2 separate regions of the Homo sapiens genome follow, and region 1 is linked to region 2. The links are contacts of gene promoters, found by promoter capture Hi-C in blood cells and fetal thymus (Javierre and others, 2016). All regions are on one chromosome and are shown on one strand. Each heading gives the region's core, a stretch centred on a gene start or on the middle of the fragment in contact. The rest is flanking DNA. Distances are from core to core; before and after follow the strand shown. Region 1 holds the start of LOC105372484 (a long non-coding RNA gene). Region 2 holds the start of ATP13A1 (ATPase 13A1).

The links. The method cuts DNA at HindIII sites, captures the fragments that hold promoters and counts their contacts. A CHiCAGO score of 5 or more calls a contact.
Region 1: a contact is called between a fragment that was not itself captured here and the fragment with the promoter of ATP13A1 in region 2, in 1 of 17 cell types (monocytes). The highest score is 7.8, in monocytes.

The regions. Positions count from the first base shown.
Region 1 is chr19:58,375,652-58,379,164 of GRCh38, reverse strand. The region is part of intron 1 of ZNF837 (zinc finger protein 837); the gene reads left to right. It overlaps LOC105372484 (a long non-coding RNA gene), which reads right to left and starts at 1,582. Exons shown (of 2, transcript XR_936130.2): 1 at 1,056-1,582; 2 at 140-380. The HindIII fragment of the contact is 6,480 bases long and covers 1-3,513 here.
Region 2 is chr19:19,662,207-19,665,560 of GRCh38, reverse strand. It overlaps ATP13A1 (ATPase 13A1), which reads left to right and starts at 1,885. Exons shown (of 26, transcript NM_020410.3): 1 at 1,885-2,290. The coding sequence starts at 1,895. RefSeq lists silencers at 1,399-1,448, 1,889-2,148 and enhancers at 1,549-1,838, 2,182-2,283, 1,555-2,537, 2,669-2,718. The HindIII fragment of the contact is 4,289 bases long and covers 1-2,736 here.

The sequences.
Region 1 (3,513 bases), core at 843-3,342, about 39 Mb before region 2:
GTTCAGACACTAAGCAGTCCTCTGACTCCCCATCACTAGGGATCAGGAGAGCCCCTTACAACACACACATTCTGTCGAGGGTGCTAGACCAGTCTCTATTAGTTTCTGTGGCTGCTATAACACACTACCACAAACTGGGCAGTTTAAAACAACAGAAATTTACTCTCACAGTCCTGGAAGCCAGAAGTCTGAAATCAAGGTGTCAGCAGTACTGTGCTCTCTGACGGCTCTGGGTGGGGGTCTTTCCTTGCCTCTTCCGGCTTCTGGCGGCTCCGGGTGTTCCTTGGAGTGTGGCTGCATCACTCCAATATCAGCCTCCATCTTCACATGGACCACTCTTCTCCGTGTCAGAACTCCCTTTGCCTCCTTCATAAGGACACCTGTCATTGGAATTAGGGCACACCCAGGTTATTCAGGGTGATCTCATCACAAGATCCTTAATTATGTCTGCAAAGACCTAATAAGGTCACATTCTGAGAGTTCCGGGGTTAGGACATTGGATATATCTTTTGCAGCCTCCTTCAGTGGAACCTGCCTGATCCTGGGTGACCTCATGTGCCCATCCATTCTTGGGCCTGTCCACTGATTCCATGGTGATCAATTGTCCCTGTTTGGCCAGGCTGTCCCAGGTATGGTCTTTCACCCTGGGAAGTCCTCAGCCCCTAAGTCCCTAGAGTTCTAGGAAGTCATGCTGAGTGCTGGTCCTAGCCCTGCTCATGCCACCAGCTGTTGTACAGACTGTGACATGAAGCCAGCAGCCTTGGAGCTAATAGCAAGGCAGGTGCCCAAGTCCCTCCATCCCTGACATCTGGGTCTCTGTGACCTGGAGTTGTGTCAGAGAGGTCCAGATCCTGGCTGTGGGGCTTCTGGGATGGCACATTGTGAAAGCGGGGCCCCTGACCTCCTGCTGCTCAGCATCCATAGTGGCATGCTCCCTCCTCCGTGTAAAGGGCTGGAGTCCACACTGGTACCCCCATCAGAGTCTATGGCTGGGGAGTTCCCTGCCCTATGTGTGGGGACCTCAGATCCCAGCCTGGCAATGACCCTGGACCAACCCCTTTAGCAGTGGGTCCTGGTGGCTTTCTCAGGAGCTCTTCAGTCAGCCTGGCCTCTCAGAGGTAGACGAGGGAACACTACAAAACCTGCAGTGCTCAGAGACAGAGGCTTGAGAGAGTGTGGGGAGGTGGGCAGGATGGGCCTGCCCCGAATAGCCAGGTCCACGGCCAGCAGATGGACTCGAGAGAGAGAAGCCGACACCTGTGAGAAACGCCAGATACTGTGTGTGGTGGTTGGGAGCCAGCAGGCAGCCTGGGTGTGGACAGAGCTCCATGGTCAGACAGACCAGAATGTGTGTCTCCATGTCTTGTGTCCTGCCCTCAGTCTCCTCCCTCCCGTCACAACTTCCCATGTGGTGGCAGCAGTGCCCTTGGGTGTGTGCCCCTGTAAGGAATTGCCCTGTGCCCTGAATATCATTCCCAGCGAGCATGTTCAGTTTCTAATGAAGAGTTTTCTTTGCTTTCTTTTTTTGAGATGTGGTCTCACTGTGTTGCCCAGGCTGGCGTGCAGTGGTGCAATTGTAGCTCACTGCAGCCTCAATCTCCCAGGCTCAAGCGATCATCCCACCTTAGCTTCCTGACAGCTGGGGCTACAGGCTTGCACCACCACACCTGGATAGTTTTTTTTTTGAGATGGAGTCTCGTTCTGTCACCCAGGCTGGAGTGCAGTGGCAAGATCTCGGCTCACTACAAGCTCCGCCTCCCGGGTTCACACCATTCTCCTGCAGGCGCCCACCACCACACCTGGCTAATTTTTTCTATTTTTTAGTAGAGACGGGATTTCACCATGTTAGCCAGGATGGTCTCAATCTCCTGACCTCGTGATCTGCCCACCTCCCAAAGTGCTGGGATTACTGGTGTGAGCCACTGCGCCCAGCCTTTTTTTTTTTTTTTTGACGGAGTCTCGCTCTGTCGCCCAGGCTGGAGTGCAGTGGCACGATCTTGGCTCACTGCAACCTCCGCCTCCCGGATTCCAGTGATTCTCCTGTCTCAGCCTCCCGAGTATCTGGGATTACAGGTGCGCGCCACCTCGCCTGGCTAATTTTTTGTATTTTTAGTAGAGATGGGGTTTCACCATGTTAGCCAGGCTGGTCTCAATCTCCTGACCTCGTGATCCACCCACCTTGGCCTCCCAAAGTGTTGGGATTACAGGCATGAGTCACCACGTCCGGCCATTTTTTTTTTTTTTTTTAATAGAGACAGGGTTTCACCATACTGCCCAGGCTGGTCTCTAACTCCTGGGCTCAAGCCATCCACCCACCTTGGCTTCACAAAGTGCTGGGATTATAGGCATAAGCCACTACACCCAGCCAAGTTTTCTCTTTGATATGAGTGAATTAACAGACACCTGGTTAAAGAAAATGCTTTTACCCCAGAGCTTAAGCCTCTGATGTGGAAACTATGCTTGGTACTCTGGTATGCAGTTGACTTGGCTGTGTGTGAGAAATTATTTTATTTTTACCTAGAGATTTAAAAGAACTTGTTTTTCTCTTTTTTTTTCCTTTTTTCTTTTCTTTCTTTTTTTTTTTTTTTTTTTTTTTTTTTTTTTTTTTTTGAGACAGAGTCTTGCTCTGTCACCCAGGCTGGAGTGTAGTGGCCTGATTTTGACTTATGGCAAGCTCTGCCTCCCGGGTTCAAGCCATTCTCCTGCCTCAGCCTCCGGAGTAGCTGGGACTACAGGCGCCTGCCACCACACCCGGCTAATTTTTTGTATTTTTTTTAGTAGAGATGGGGTTTCACCGTGTTAGCCAGGATGGTCTCGATCTCTTGACCTCGTGATCCGCCCGCCTCGGCCTCCCAAAGTGCTGGAATTACAGGCGTGAGCCACCGCGCCCGGCCAAGAACTTGTTTTTCTCAATACAAATGTATTGCTTAAAAGAAACCACCTTCGGCCGGGCGCAGTGGCTTGTGCCTGTGATCCCAGCACCTTTGGGAAGCTGAGGCAGGGGGATCACTTGAGGCCAGGAGTTTGAGACCAGCCAGGCCAACAGGGTGAAACCTCATCTCTACTGAAAATACAAAAATTAGCTGGGCGTGGGGGCAGGCACCTGTAATCCCAGCTACTCGCCAGGCTGAGGCAGGAGAATTGCTTGAACCTGGGAGGCAGAGGTTGCAGTGAGCCGAGATTGTGTCACTGCACTCCAGCCTGGGCAACAGAACGAGACTCTGTGTCAAAAAAATAAATAAATAATAAAATAAAAATAAATAAATAAACCACCTTCATCCCATGCAGTGCTTTCGTGTGACCAGGGCTCAAATGACATCCTGGATGTTGCAGGGTGGGCCGACGCCTGACAGGCTGCAGGAAGGAGCACTGTGGCATGGGTGCATTCTGCTTTAAAAAAAAAAAAAAAGATATAAATCAGCTGGGCGAGGTGGCTCACACCTGTAATCCCAGCACTTTGGGAGGCCGAGGCAGGCGGATCATGAGGTCAGGAGTTCGAGACCAGCCTGACCA
Region 2 (3,354 bases), core at 636-3,135:
AAAAAAAGTACAAAAATTAGCCGGAGCGGTGGCATGCGCCTGTAATCCCAGTTACTTGGGAGGCTGAAATGGGAGAATCGATTGAACTCGGAAAGTGGAGTTTGCAGTGAGCGGACATCGCGCCACTGCACTCCAGCCTGGGCGACAGAGTGAGACTTCATCTCGAAAAATTAAAAAAAGAATATGCAACAATATAAGCTACAAAATTTAAATATCCAATAAATTTTAAGTTTAAATAAATTTGCTGTATCAGAGGACAAAAAGAAACATAAAATAGTTACTGTTTGTCACACATACTGTTTAATCCTACTAATTGGTACTGTTAAGTAGTCCTATTGTGGTTTTGTTCAAATAGCATTTATGCAACAGTACAGTTAATAATATAGAACTATATAATTTCTTTTTTTTTTTTTTTTCAGACAGAGTCTCGCTCTGTCGCCCAGGCTGGAGTGCAGTGGCGCGATCTCGGCTCACTGCAAGCTCCGCCTCCCAGGTTCAGGCCATTCTCCTGCCTCAGCCTCCCGAGTAGCTGGGACTACAGGCGCCTGCAACCACGCCCGGCTAATTTTTTGTATTTTTAGTAGAGACGGGGTTTCACTGTGTTAGCCAGGACGGTCTCGATCTCCTGAACTCGTGATCCGCCCGCCTCGGCCTCCCAAAGTGCTGGAATTACAGGGGTGAGCCACCGCGCCCGGCCTAGAAGTATATAATTTCAAGTAAACACCAGTTTTTCATTTTTTATGTTAAAGTGGTAATTTCTTTTTTTTTTTTTTTTTTTTTTTGGAGACAGAGTCTCGCTCTGTCGCCCAGGCTGGAGGGCAGTGGCACAATCTCCGCTCACTGCAAGCTCTGCCTCTCCAGTTCGCGCCATTCTGCCTCAGGCTCCGGAGTAGCTGGGACTACAGGCGCCCGCCACCACGCCCGGAGAATTTTTTTTTTTTTTTTGTATTTTTAGTGGAGACGGGGTTTCACCGCGTTAGCCAGGATGGTCTCGATCTCCTGACCTCGGCCTCCCAAAGTGCTGGGATTACAGGCGTGAGCCACCGCGCCCGGCCTAAAGTGGTTTTTGTAATTCATTTTTCTTTTTTTTTTTTTTGAGACAGTCTTGCTCTGTTGGCCAGGCTGAAGTGCAGTGGAGCAATCTTGGCTCACTGCAACCTCCGTCTCCCGGGCTCAAGCAATTCTCCTGCCTCATCCTCCCGAGTAGCTGGGATTACAGGCATGTGCCACCACGCCCGGCTAATTTTTGTATTTTTAGTAGAGACGTGGTTTCACCATGTTGGGTCTTGAACTCCTGATCTCAGGTGATCCACCCGCCTCGCCTCCCAAAGTGTTGGGATTACAGGCGTGAGCCACCGCGCCCGGCTAGTATTTGTAATTCTTATCTATCACATTAAGGCTCTTGTCCGGTGTGGTTGTGTTCCGGGGCGGTCCCCGACCCCGCCCCTCACAAGCCCCGCCCCCCGCACCGGGCCCCGCCTCCTGAACTCCGAAGCTCCCGACCCCGCCTCCGCAGGGTCCAGGCTTCGCCCCTGGTGACAGGTGGTGCTGGTGTAGTCAAGGAGGAGGGCTCGCTTTTTTTGGTTCAGGTTGTCATGGTGGCGCCCAAGCCCGCCTTGCCGGCCTTGTCTTTTCCGGTCTCAGTCCGGCGTGGCAGCGGAGGCAGGCACCGTTAGGTCTTCCAGTCCCTCTCTGTCATGGCGACGCCCAGCCTCTTCTTCCGGCCACAGCCTGTCATGGCGGCACCCGAAGTAGTCCCTGCCGGGGCCAGCCTGTTCTGTTGCCCTGGCTCTTCCTAGTCCAGGCTGCCATGGCGGCGCTCAGGGCTTACCGGAAGTAAAACTTCGGAAGTGAGGCGTTCCTCTGCCCGGAAGTGAGCGCGGCGCTAGGAAAGATGGCGGCAGCGGCGGCGGTGGGCAACGCGGTGCCCTGCGGGGCCCGGCCTTGCGGGGTCCGGCCTGACGGGCAGCCCAAGCCCGGGCCGCAGCCGCGCGCGCTCCTTGCCGCCGGGCCGGCGCTCATAGCGAACGGTGACGAGCTGGTGGCTGCCGTGTGGCCGTACCGGCGGTTGGCGCTGTTGCGGCGCCTCACGGTGCTGCCATTCGCCGGGCTGCTTTACCCGGCCTGGTTGGGTGCCGCAGCCGCTGGCTGCTGGGGCTGGGGCAGCAGTTGGGTGCAGATCCCCGAAGCTGCGCTGCTCGTGCTTGCCACCATCTGCCTCGCGCACGCGCTCACTGTCCTCTCGGGGCATTGGTCTGTGCACGCGCATTGCGCGCTCACCTGCACCCCGGTAAGTGTGTACACGCGAGCCCGACCCCCAGCACGGTCGAGCCTCGCCGTGGGTCCCAGCTGCGGCCTTCCTGTCGGTCACCATCGCGACCTGGGCCACTCATCTGCCTGGCCTGGATTCCCAGGGGCACCCTCTACACTTTGGCGCAGGCTTAATCATGACCCCACTGCTGACTTGCTGTGCATGCCTGGTGCGGGTTATTTCCTTTTTCTGAAGTCCTCCCTGTTATGGTCATTTAGATTCAGTGATGTAATACTTGTAAAAGGCTTAGCGCAGGGCCCAGCATACGTCGCCCAGGTCAGGTAGGAGTTGTTTATACTAGTTCCCATATTAGCGACTACTCTTGTTCTGGAAACGGCCCTACCTTCCATCTCATCTGTCTCCTACCTTGGTTTTCAAAGTGTAAGGCGAGATCACTGGGATAGGTTTCCCCCATCTATGAAGCTTAGTTGGTTCTTAGACTGAACCAAGTCTTGCTGTCCAGTGCTTAGTGGTCTTCCATACTGTGATGGAAAGGAGCATGAAATGCAGTTAATTACAGTGTTGAAGAGAGGCAGAGGTGTTTATGAGCGAGTCATTTACATGATGTCTTTCCGCAAAATGAGGGTGGTGATACTGAGTTCTGTCGGGGATACAACAGCAAGCAAGGTCGCGCTCCTGACCCACAGTTTAGAGTTCTGAGTGACCAAGTGTCGTCGGAGGAGTTGGTGACTGTGAGCTTCCCTGGGCCTGAAGCAGTGACTGTGTCGTCTCTCTCTGGGCCTGCCTCAGGTGACACCAGCAGGTTTGGAGCCATGGACACTGAGGTATATCAGGAAGCTTCCCCTCTGATTCCAGGAGTGTGTTTGCCTCAAGAAGAGGAAAAGGGAACAGCATCAAGGGCTACAGAAAGACAGAAGCCCCCCACCCTGGCTGGCTCTGAATGTGGGTAGAATCCTCATTCTCCTCTCCTGAGAGACAACCTGTTCTGTCCTTCAAAAAGACTTATCTATCCCAGGGGAGGAGCTCAACGTGGTAGCTTTGAGGTAGTACAATGAAAGACACCAATGAGGGACAAAATAAAG